Regions from separate parts of the Homo sapiens genome. Here region 1 is linked to region 2. Evidence: promoter capture Hi-C in human tissues and cell types (Jung and others, 2019). All regions are on one chromosome and are shown on one strand. The core of a region is centred on a gene start or on the middle of the fragment in contact, and the rest is flanking DNA. Distances in the headings are between cores, read along the strand shown.

The links. The method cuts DNA at HindIII sites, captures the fragments that hold promoters and counts their contacts. A contact is called where the count stands out against the background at its distance.
Region 1: a fragment that was not itself captured here is called in contact with the fragment with the promoter of HAND1 in region 2 in 1 of the 25 tissues and cell types used here (neural progenitor cells).

Annotation. Positions count from the first base shown.
Region 1 is chr5:154,529,274-154,534,900 of GRCh38, reverse strand. No RefSeq gene overlaps it. Among named protein-coding and RNA genes, the nearest start is that of HAND1, 54 kb to the right of the region's middle. The HindIII fragment of the contact is 7,848 bases long and covers 1-5,627 here.
Region 2 is chr5:154,475,479-154,481,909 of GRCh38, reverse strand. HAND1 (heart and neural crest derivatives expressed 1) reads left to right here and starts at 3,683. Exons shown (of 2, transcript NM_004821.3): 1 at 3,683-4,444; 2 at 6,000-6,431. The coding sequence starts at 3,902. The coding sequence ends at 6,104. RefSeq lists silencers at 1,710-1,759, 6,018-6,205 and enhancers at 1,726-2,235, 5,009-5,863. The HindIII fragment of the contact is 8,038 bases long and covers 1-6,431 here.

The DNA.
Region 1 (5,627 bases), core at 1,616-4,115, 54 kb before region 2:
GCTGAGCCAAACTGAATGGAAAGCTGTGTTCTGATGGCCAAAGGCGGGGCCTTGGGTGCCTGGGATGGAGTTCCTGCCTGCACACGCTCTAGTCACAGGCTCCTCTAACAGCAGTCCAGCTCTGCAAGAACAAAGAATATGTGTGTACATGTGAGCTACGGCACCCAACTAACCCTGAACCGTCTCTGCAACCTCACCCTGCCCTGATTATCTCAACACGCGGGTCCCCAGCCTCCCCTGGCTGAACCCACTGAACACGTGGTCTGTAGGGTTACCACGAGATCACGCCAGGTGGGCTCTGCCCTTTAGGTTACTTGGGGGTTAAAGTGGGTGATGGGCACATTCTTTGGTAGGCATTTTATATTCTTCGCTTCATCCTCACAGCATCTCGAAATAGGTGGTATCATCTTACCTCATTTACAGATGAGGGAAAGTAAGAATTCAAAATCACCCCATTAGTAACCTGGGAATCATCTTTGATTCTTCCCTTCCTCCCACTGCCCGCAAACCGACCCATTCCCTATCCTGACCATTTTTATCTGTGGAGTGTTTCTCAAATCCATAATTTTCTCTCCATGCTACTACCACCAGCCCAATCCAAGCCACCATTCCCTCTTGCCTGTGTAAACACCATAACTTCCCAACTGGTCTCCCTGTCACCACTCTGACCTCAGTACTGTAGCCAATGACTTTTTGGCTGAAAATATTTTCAGCTGGGGACAGTGGCTTGCGCCTGTAGTACCAGCTATTCTGGAGGCTGAGGAGGAAGATGGCTTGAGCACAGAAGTTCGAGGCTGTAGTGAGCTATGGTCACTGTACTCCAGCCTGGGCAACAGAGTGAGACCCTGTCCCTAAAAAATAAAAATTAGGCTGGGCACGGTGGCTCACGCCTGTAATCCCAGCACTTTGGGAGGCTGAGGCAGGCAGATCACCTGAGGTTGTTAGTTCGAGACCAGCCTGGCCAACATGGTGAAACCCCGTCTCTACTAAGAATACAAAACTAGCTGGGTGTGGTGGCGGGCACCTGTAATCTAAACTACTCGGGAGGGTGAGGCAGGAGAATAGCTTGAACCTGGGAGGCGGAGGTTGCGGTGAGCCAAGATTGTGCCACAGCACTCTAGCCTGGGCAACAGAGCGAGACTGTGCCTCAAAAAAAATAATAAAATAAAATAAAAATAAATAAATTAAAATAAAATAAAAATTTTTAAAGTTTCAGTGTAATTTGTTTATACATATACCTACAATACATGCATGCATATCCATAAATACAATTTTACACAAATGCCTAAAAATGATCAGAAATACCCTTTATTTAGTCAGTACAGTTTTCTTTCTTTTCTTTTTGGTTTGGCTCCTCCTTTTCCACCCCCTCGCCTCACACAGCAACCCACACTCATGCCAACGACCTGCTGTGTGTCATTCCATGTTTTTATCTGTACTCATTCAATCCTGAGCACATATTTGTATGCACATTTACACATACAGAATTTACTCATTATTGCTTCTTTTTTTAAAATGGGACCATCCTATAAAAACATTTAAAACAATATTATAGTTTTCTGCATCTTACCTTCTTCACCCAACAACACTTCATAGACATCTTTCCAAGTCATCGAGTATAGCTCTAATTCTTTCTTTTTAATGGCTGCATAATATTTCACTGTGTGGATGTATCAGTGTATTCAGTCACCATCTTGTTTTTATTTTTGTTGTTCTGAGACAGAGTCTCACTCTATCACCCAGGCTGGAGTACAGTTGTGCAATCACCCCCTCACTGAAGCCTTGAACTCCTGGGCTCAAGGGATCCTCCCATCTCAGCCTCCTGAGTAGCTGGGACTATAAGAGAGTGCCATTAGACCTGGCTAATTTTTTTTTAAGAGATGGGGTCTCACTATGTTGCCCAGGCTGGTCTTGAACTCCTGGATTCAAGCAATCTTCCCACCCCAGCCTCCCAAAGTGCTGGGATTACAAACATGAGCCACCATGCCCAGCCTGGTCATCTCTTTGTTGATGGTCATTGTCTGCTTTCATTTTTTTGCCATTGGGAGCAATGTGGCACTATTAGGTAGAGTTCTTAGAGGCAGCAGAAGCTGATGCTGTTTAATTGACCTGGAGGCTCAGTTGCTAGGACCAAAGCCCTAAACCATGCCACAGAACAGCCTGATAAGCTCACTGGCTTTGGTCTCACGAAGCTCTCTCCTGCTCCACCCATGCCACCTCTACACCTGGAATTCCACCTTGCAGTCCCTGGGAAACTGCCTCTGGTGCTGCAGCCACCAGAACTGGACTCTTGTCTGGTCCCATGTTAACACAAAATGGGAGAAGTCTCACAGGATGCATCTAATTGGCAGAGCCTGCTGGAATGGCCACATCCTAGCTGCAAAAGAGGCTGGAATGTCAATGGAAATTCTTGAACTGAGGAGGTGATTTCCCCAATTATAAAGAAAGGCTATTCAAAAGATGATGGGCAGCTATGAATATGGCAGTATCTACTGCAATTTTGCTGTACATAAGTCTTTCTTTATTGGGGCATTTTTTATATATATATATTTTTTTAAATTTTTTGAGATGGAGTCTCACTCTGTCACCCAGGCTGGAATGCAGTGGCACGATCTTGGTTCACTGCAACCTCTGCCTCCTGGGTTCAAGTGATTCTCCTGCCTCAGCCTCCTGAGTAGCTGGGATTACAGGCCTGCACCACCACACCTGGCTAATTTTTGTATTTTTAGTAGACATGTGATTTCACCATGTTGGTCTGGCTGGTCTCGAACTCCTGACCTCAGGTGATCTGCCTGCCTCAGCCTCCCGAAGTGCTGGGATTACAGGCATGAGCCACCTCGCTCAGCCAAGGGGTCTTTATTTTTGTGGGGTAGGTTTGCAGGAGTTGAATGGCTGCTTTCCAAAATGTCTGTAACATTGCACGTTTCCACCAGCAATATGTGGGAGTACCACTTTCTTTACCTCCCCACCAGCCATAGGTGTGAGAGCTCTGTCAGATATAAAACTTGATCACGGCTGGGCTCGGTGGCTCACGCCTGTAATCTCAGCACTTTGGGAGGCCAAGGCAGGTGGATTACCTGAGGTCAGGAGTTCAAGACCAGCCTGGCCAACATGGTGAAACCCCATTTCTACTAAAAAACATATATAAAAATTAGCCAGGCATGATGGCACACGCCTGTAAACCCAGCTACTTGGGAGGCTGAGGCAGGAGAATTGCTTGAGCCTGGGACGGGGAGGTTGCAGTGAGCCGAGATTGTGCCACTGCACTCCAGTCTGGCTGACAGAGCAAGACTCTGTCTCAAACAAACAAACAAACAAACAAACAAACTTGATCACTTTGCTGACTGTTAATATAACAGTATATAACTGTTAATATAAATTTGAGTATATTTTTCATGTTTTTGGTCGTTCCGTTGACTGTCTAGTTATCACCTTTACCCATTTTTCTGTTGTGATGGCTTCTCCTTTCAGGCTGCATGCTGGATGTCTTCCATCTGTCCTTCCAGATCAGGCTCTGCTTTCTCCATCTGCTATGTGCCTCTTATCCCATACGGACTGTATAGCCAGCTTCTGGTTGGGTTTGGCCAGTGTGAGGCACACCTGAAGATCACTGGGCAAGAGGAAAGAGAGATTGGGGTATTTACACCCAAGCCCTTTTCCTGCCCTTGATGGGCATCATAAATCGGCTTCATTCCTCTGCAGCTCCTGTCTTCTGGCCCTCCACCCGCCATATAGTCTTTTCCAGGCTCTGAAAACTCCTTGATATCCCAACTCCTTTTGGCCTTGGTGGAAATTATTTCCTTCTGATACCAGCTCTGCGGTTGTGCAGGTCCCTGGATGCATTTGTTAAACCCTGCACACCCCTCTGTATTGTCCCTTCATTATATTGCCTTAAACTACCCCAGTTGATCGTGCCACCTACCTCTTGCCAGGACTGTCGGTGACATAAGATAGGAAACTTTTCTCTGTCTTTAGTAGACAGTGCTATTTTTCAAACTCTAGTGTTTGCCCACTGAGTTTGTTTTTAGTATCTTTTGCCATACTAAAGATTTGATTTATAAATATATAGTCAAATTTAATTTTTAAGTAATCTCTCTTTTCTTTTCTTTTCTTTTCTTTTTTTTTTTTTTTTTTGAGACGGAGTCTCTATTTCCCAGGATGGAGTGCAGTGGCACGATCTCGTCTCGCTACAACCTCCGCCTCCCAGGTTCAAGTGATTCTTCTGCCTCAGCCTCCTGTTTAGCTGGGGTTACAGGCATGCGCCACCATGCCCAGCTCATTTTTGTATTTTTAGTAGAGACGGGGTTTTGCCATTTTGGCCAGGTTGGTCTCAAACTCCTGCCACCCTCCTCGGCCTTTCAAAGTGCTGGGATTACGAACGTGAGCCACCGCCTTTTTTTTTTTTTTTTTTTTTTTTTTTGAGATGGAGTCTCGCTCTGTCGCCCAGGCTGGAGTGCAGTGGCGTGATCTTGGTTCACTGCAACCTCCACCTCCCAGATTCAAGAGATTCTCCTGCCTCAGCCTCCTGAGTAGCTGGGATTACAGGCACCCACCACCACGCCCAGTTAATTTTGTATTTTTAGTGGAGACGGGGTTTCACCATGTTGGCCAGGCTGGTCTCAAACTTCTGACCTGAGGTGATCCGCCCACCTCAGCCTCCCAAAGTGCTGGGATTATAGGCATAAGCCACTGCACCAGGCCAATCTCGCTTTTCTTTGACAAATAAGGTCTTCCCAACCTCTAGACCAGAAGTTGGGAAATTTTTGCATAAAAATCCAGCAAGTAACTATTTCAGGCTTTGAGGGGTGTATGGTATGGTCTCTGTCATAACCACTCAACTCTGGCATCATGACACAAAAGCAGCCATAAATATGCCAACGAATGTGCTTGAATAAAACATTGTTTATAAAAATAGGCAGGCAGAAGGCCGGGCGTGGTAGCTCATGCCTTTAATCCCACCACTTTGGGAGGCTGAGGCAGGCAGGTCAAGAGGTCAGGAGTTTGAGACCAGCCTGGCCAACATGGTGAAAACCCATCTCTACTAAAAATACAAACAAAAAAATTAGCTGGGTGTGGTGGCGGGTACCTGTAATCGCAGCTACTCAGGAGGCTGGGGCAGGAGAATCTCTTGAACCTGGGAGGCGGAGGTTGCAGTGAGCCGAGATCGTGCCACCGCCCTCCAGCACAGGCAACAGTGCGAGATTCTGTCTCAAAAAAAAAAAAAAAAAAAAAAAATAGGCAGCAGCAATTCTACTTCTAGGTAAATGCCCAAGAAAAATGGCAGCATAGTTCACACAAATACTGGTACCTGAATGTTCATAGCAGCACTAATCATAATAGCCAAAAGGAGGAAACAAACTAAATGTCCATCAATGGATGAATGGATACGCAAAATGTGGGATATCCATAAAATGGAATATTATTCATCCATGAAAAGGAGTGAAGTTCTGATACTTGCTACAACATGGATGAATCTTGAAAACATGCTAAGAGAAAAAAGAACAGTTGCAGATGATCACTTATAATATGACTCTGTTCATATGAAATGTCCAGGATTGGCAGATCTATAGAAACAGAAAGTAGATTGGTGGTTGCCTAGGGCTGGGGAGGATAGGGAATGGGGGTTG
Region 2 (6,431 bases), core at 2,434-4,933:
GCATAAGCCCTCTACTTTGTAAAACAGGGTAAAGAAGAGTTCCTGCCGGGTCTCACCACTACAACTGGGGGAAGAAACGAGAAGCCTGCATTTGAAAATACTAAGAAGGCCAACCCCCCTGAAGGCACTCTTTAGGTGAGCAAGGTTCGTTAAGAGGAGGCTGCAGGGGCAGTGTGGGCTAGGACCCTGGGAGTTCTAGTCCTTGGTCTGTTGAGGTAGGCAAGAGGAAAGCGGAGTCCTTCTGTAGGGATCCCTGAGCTGAGCACTAAGTCCCAGGAGGAACCAGGGCAGGGTCCCTGCAATAGTGAGGAGCTGGGAATTCCAGAATTCCAGACTATCAATCCTATTCCCTTCTTCTGCAACTGGGGAAACTGAGGCTCGGACTGGAAAGGAACAAAGAGGTGCTAGATAGGGAAAGCCAGGACTCTTGCCTGTCACATCTCTTGCCTGCCAGCCTAAAGCAATTTTAGCCAAAATCCTAGGTCTCAGACCTCCTCCTACAATATAGCTTGGGCAGAGATAGAGAACAACCTTACAAGGTCCCCACCATCCCGGGAGTTCTGCTGCTCTCCACGGACTACAGTAAAGCATTTTGGGGTCTCTGAGAAGGCAGTCTAGAGCCTAGTTGTACTGCAGTCTCCCCCGACGTCATCCTGCTGGGGGTTGCCCCAGCCCCAAGCCTCAGGAGATCCCTTAGGGCTGAGTTTCTGGTGGGGGCACCGCTTGAAAAATGACACTGAATACCTTCTCTAGGTTGGGGAACAGTGCTTTCCACATCACTGGCAGCTGGAGACACCCTGCTCTTTAAGACCCATGGGGGGCTGCCAGGTAGTCTCAGGGGCCCTCAAGGGGTGTCATAGGACTGGGACTCCTCACCCAGTACTGATAATGCATTCCCCACCACACTAACCAGGCCAGATATATGGGGGATGTATACAACCTTGAGTGATCTGTGTAACATCATAAAAGCAACTAGGACTCATATGGGCAGGCGCGTGGGCCACACATTTGTATGTGTGTTATGTGTGAGCATGTGAGAACCTCTATTTGTGAGCACCTGTGCATATGTAGTAGATATTGTGACTGTGTACTTGTGCACTGAAGGCTTAGCGGTGACACTGAGAATATACAAAATGTATGATGGGATTTTGGAAGTTTGTGTTGCGAATACAATTGTGGAGAATCTTAGGAAGATACAAGCTGGTTTAAATTGTGGCAATGAGATTATGTGTGAAACCCTGCATTTGTGTAGTATTCAGAATTTATGTGTTTCTACCATATGACTTTGGTCTCTGTGCATGCCTGAATGGAGGATTGGGAGCGGCTCCCAGGTGTAACACATCTGAAGCGTGATGAGTATGTACCCTGTGGGTGACAGAGAGACAATGTGTAAAATCCTAGGAATGCATGAATGCTGTGTGTACCGTGGCTGTGCGTATTACTGTGAGAATACACATACTTTTGGGCGTCTTATGAAGATACGGGCTTTTGTGTACGGCGGCAAGGTTTTGTGAGCCCTTGTGCATGTACCTGTGAATGTATAATCTGAGGGCCTAGTGTGCCGCTCTGAGAGGCACTGTTGCAGATTGTACTTGGATTAGGACAAAGACTGGGCGTGTGTTGAGGATTGTGTGTTGAGGTCCTTCTCTCCACAGCGTAATTACTCTCTACCTGCGCTCTTTCTAGAATGCCTCCAGGCCAGGGAGGCTTGGGACCCCGCAGAGCCGCCGCAGCAGCGGGCCCCCAGCGCTCCCTCCCCGCGTGCCTCCGGCTCCGCGCTCTGCCCTACCCCAGCGCTGCTGGCGCCAGGCGCCGGGGAGAGCGGGGGGTTTCCAGCCCGCCTCGGGCAGGAAACCAGGACCTCCCTGCACCACCCCCCCATGCACCTCCAGGGCCCACAGCCCTGCTGAGCTCCCACAGGTGGAACCAGCAGGCCCAGGCTTTTGTCTCCGTCACTCCTGTATGTAACCCCCCACCCTTCATTCACTCTCTTGTCCAGGAGTGGAATTCCACTCATCCACTCCCTACCGGACCTCGAGAAAATCGCTCTTCTTCTCTGGGCTTCACGTTCCATATCTGTTCAAGGAGAGAATGGGCCTTTCTCCCTCTGTCTTTGGACTAGTAACTATGATAGGCACATAGTAGGCATCAATAAATAATTGTTGAATGAATGGGTGAATGATTTGCCTTCTAAAAAGAGCACTCACATTAACTTCTCCTTTCCCCCTCCCCTCGACTTTGCTTTGAAGAGAGGCACACTCCCTCTACCACACCGAGGGAGGGGGCGTTGAGCTGAGAAAGGTTGAGAGAATGAGGGACCCAGGTAGGTGGACATCGGCCAAGAAAGGAACCACAGCGGGAGGTAAGACCGAGAGTCCCCAGCTTGAAGCGTCACCACTCCGGGATTCCCAGATTCCAACGCGAGCCTGGGGAAAGCCCACAGTGGAGAGAGTCCGGCTGGCAGGGAATGGCCCTACCCCCGGGGTGAAATCTCGGAGGGTCGTGCAGCCGAGTCGCGCCTCTGCGCTGATGCGTGAGAGATGCCGGACGTCGCGTTTGCCTGTGCGAGCCTCGCGGATGCTGTGCAGTCTTGGTCCCCTCTGCGTGTGTCTAACGCCGAATGCTGGTGTCTCGAGGTGTGAGCTTCGGGGCCGGTGTCTTTAAAGAACCAAAGATTCTTAAGGAGTGATGATCTGGGTAGAGCGGCCCGACGTAGCCGCGCTCCCAGGTCTCGGTGCGAGTCCTGCGGACAGACCAGAGGAGACCTGCTGGCCAGATGCCCCGGGCCCAAGGCGGACGCCAGACTGTCTCTGCGCCAGCCGGGCTGGCCTTCGGAATGGATCAGGCACCCGGGAGGCCGGAGTGGATCTCAGACCCTCAAGCCGGGAACAAACCCGTCGATGCCCGTGGGCCTGGAGTCCGCCTCCTCCTTCCCGCCCCACCCCTACCCCTGCCTCCGAAAGGCTTCTTCGCTGGTCAGTAGCTGCGTGCCCGTCTGCCTGAGGCTGGGTCAGAATTGGCGGGCTGGTAACGACCCCGTGCACAAGCGGCTCCCAGTCTCTCCAGAAAGGGCCGATGACTAAGGGGTGGGGGTGGGGGCGGAGGGCTGGAAGGTGTTAGGGAAGAACGTTAGCGGCCTATCCTGTCTTCAGCAGCGCCCTCTCATCTTCTAGCTCTGACGCCGAGCAGAGCAGTTGGAGCTCGGGACTGGGAACTGCTGGAATTCCTATTTAGACTTCTAGACAGTCTAGAAACAAGAACCTTTCTTTCCCTGGGCCTCAGTTTCCTTGTCTGTAAAATCAAAAGGCGGGCTCTAGGTGTAGGCCTTCTTTTCGCTTGGTGATTCTGGATTCCTTTCCTTGGATCCGTGGGGAGGGGGTGGCAGCAACAGTCCAGGGCGTTGGCCGTCCTGTGCCTCAAGTACGTAGTCCCCGTGCCCGCCCCCTCAACACCCCCAGCAGCCCGCCCCCCTAAGCCCGCAGAGCAGGGAGCTGAGTGGGAGGGGCAGAGGCGGGGCCGGTTCCCAGTCCCTGCTGGCGGACTAGAGTGGCGCGGGCTGAGCGTAAAACCTGGGATAGCCACTCCCCCTTTTCCTTATCCCCGCCCCCCTGCCATTGGCTCCCGGGAGAGGTTGACATCAAAGCCGCGGTCTTATATAAGCCAGATCCGCAGGGGAGTCCGCAGAAGGGTTAAACAGGTCTTTGGGCTTCGGCGACCTCGCCCGCGGCAGAAACCGGTAAGAAGACAGTGGGCTGCGCGTCTCATTTTCAGCCTTGCCCGGACTCTCCCAAAGCCGGCGCCCAGTAGTGGCTCCAGAGCCCACAGGTGGCCCCCGGCAGTCTCTGGGGCGCATGGAGCGGCGTTAATAGGGCTGGCGGCGCAGGCCAGTAGCCGCTCCAACATGAACCTCGTGGGCAGCTACGCACACCATCACCACCATCACCACCCGCACCCTGCGCACCCCATGCTCCACGAACCCTTCCTCTTCGGTCCGGCCTCGCGCTGTCATCAGGAAAGGCCCTACTTCCAGAGCTGGCTGCTGAGCCCGGCTGACGCTGCCCCGGACTTCCCTGCGGGCGGGCCGCCGCCCGCGGCCGCTGCAGCCGCCACCGCCTATGGTCCTGACGCCAGGCCTGGGCAGAGCCCCGGGCGGCTGGAGGCGCTTGGCGGCCGTCTTGGCCGGCGGAAAGGCTCAGGACCCAAGAAGGAGCGGAGACGCACTGAGAGCATTAACAGCGCATTCGCGGAGTTGCGCGAGTGCATCCCCAACGTGCCGGCCGACACCAAGCTCTCCAAGATCAAGACTCTGCGCCTAGCCACCAGCTACATCGCCTACCTGATGGACGTGCTGGCCAAGGATGCACAGTCTGGCGATCCCGAGGCCTTCAAGGCTGAACTCAAGAAGGCGGATGGCGGCCGTGAGAGCAAGCGGAAAAGGGAGCTGGTGAGTCCTGGGGCTTGCATGCTCCAGCCAAGGGTGCAGGAGCGGTGAGCAGCCTCAGGCCATGCAGGTAGTCGAAGGAGGCTGTGTTGTCCTGTGTCCGATTTGGAAAGGTTGGGAAGAGTTCTGAGATGGTTGGTCACAGCGTGCGATCCTGTGCATGGAGGGAGGCAGATTCGTCATAGAATTCATTTGTAATACGGGAGAGTGTTTGTAATACTGAGTGAATAATCTGTTTGGAGCCTCGGACCCTCCAAAAATGCACACACCACAGGTTTTGCTTCCAATTTGGAGAAGTCCTGATTCATTCCTGGGCTCTCCTGGAAGCCAGGTTAAGAATATGTGTTAAAGTTCTTTACTTTGAGTTTGAATTTATGTGCCCGGGCTCGGTTCCTGTTTTCAAAGGGCCTTTGCTGGACCGGCTAGTCTACTTCCATCATTGTATAAATAGGGAAACTGAGGGCCCAGAGTGGGTCGGGGCAGGAAAAGCACCTATCTGAGGAGTCCAGGGTGGAGGTGAGGTAAAACAGATCGGGTCTTCTACTCAGTCCAGGGCCAGTTCTGGTTCTCCCCATGGACTGGTTCTGAGGACGACTTCAGTGGCTTTGCATGTAAATAAGAGCCACTTCTTTTAGCTTTGGAGAGCGCAGTCTCGTCTTGGCCTTCTTGATCCTCTCCGGTTAGGGTGACACTTCCTGGCACTCGGTCTGGCTGTCCGGGGCTGGGGGCTTCTGAGCGCTGGGTTTTCAGGCTGGCCAATCAGTTTCTCTAGGTTGGGGGGCTTAAGGCCGTAGCGGAGTGGAGCCAGCTGAAGCGCCCCACCTGGTTTATCCAACCTGCGGGGGCCTGTGGTAAACTGACGAAAGCTCATCCAGGGACGAGGGAAAGATAAATAGGCATCGAGTCTCTAAACGGCTGCCCCGGACTGGGGATGGTGCAGGCCGGCTTCTTTCGAGGTGCGGCGCCTCGAAAGAAGTTGTTATTGGGCGGATCCCGGCCCCCACGCGTCGCCGCCTCCTTCAAGTAGCACCGCTTGGTTCCTGCTGAAAGAGCGGGAAGGAGGACGCTAGGCCAGCTCGACTCCCCGCTCTTTTACCTCCGTATCTGAGGCTCCCAGCTCCGGCTTAGGGGGCCCCAAGCCTGCATCCAAGCCCTGATGTTTAAACCAGGTTGGGAGGCTGGCGGAAGTGTGTGGGGTGCAGCGAGAGCGGGAGAACCGTGGATTTCCACCCCTCCCTTCCAATATCCTGGGATCTCCCTTAGGTGTCCTAAAGCCAAATCAACGCGCGTCAGTTTCACCAGACGCAGAACATTTTCCTTACCAAACCTCCCGAAGCTGCCCAGCCCATCCCGGGTCCCAGGAACTCCGCGCATAAAGGCAAATTTACGAGCCTGTTTGCCTATTTCGCAAACAGAAATCCGTCACTTATTTAAAGACTCCCAGTTACTGCTCCCGACACCTTCCCCTCCTCCTCATCTTACCCCATGCCGGGCGATCGGAGCAGAAAAATTAAAACCTGTCTCTCCCGCCTCTTTTCTTCTGTGTGTCCTTTGGCAGCAGCAGCACGAAGGTTTTCCTCCTGCCCTGGGCCCAGTCGAGAAGAGGATTAAAGGACGCACCGGCTGGCCGCAGCAAGTCTGGGCGCTGGAGTTAAACCAGTGAGCCGAGGCCCGCGCCGAGGACCTGGCCAGGCCAGCCACTCCTGAAGCCCCGGGAGGAGAGGAAGGCAGCGGCGAACGCCAGGCTCTGGGCTCCGGCGACTGGTGCTACGCATCCCGCGGAGCTTCTGCTGAGCGCCGGCAGGTCGTCGGCTGCAACCACACACTTGGATCGCACGTGCAATGTCCTTTGATTTTTTTTAATACATTAAGAGAAAGAGAAATATATATATATCCACCCCCAGCCCAACCGAGGGCGGCCCTTGGCGGCAACATGCAAGAAGGAGGGACTGTCGAACCCAAGGGCTCAAAGACGCACTCTTCCACCCTT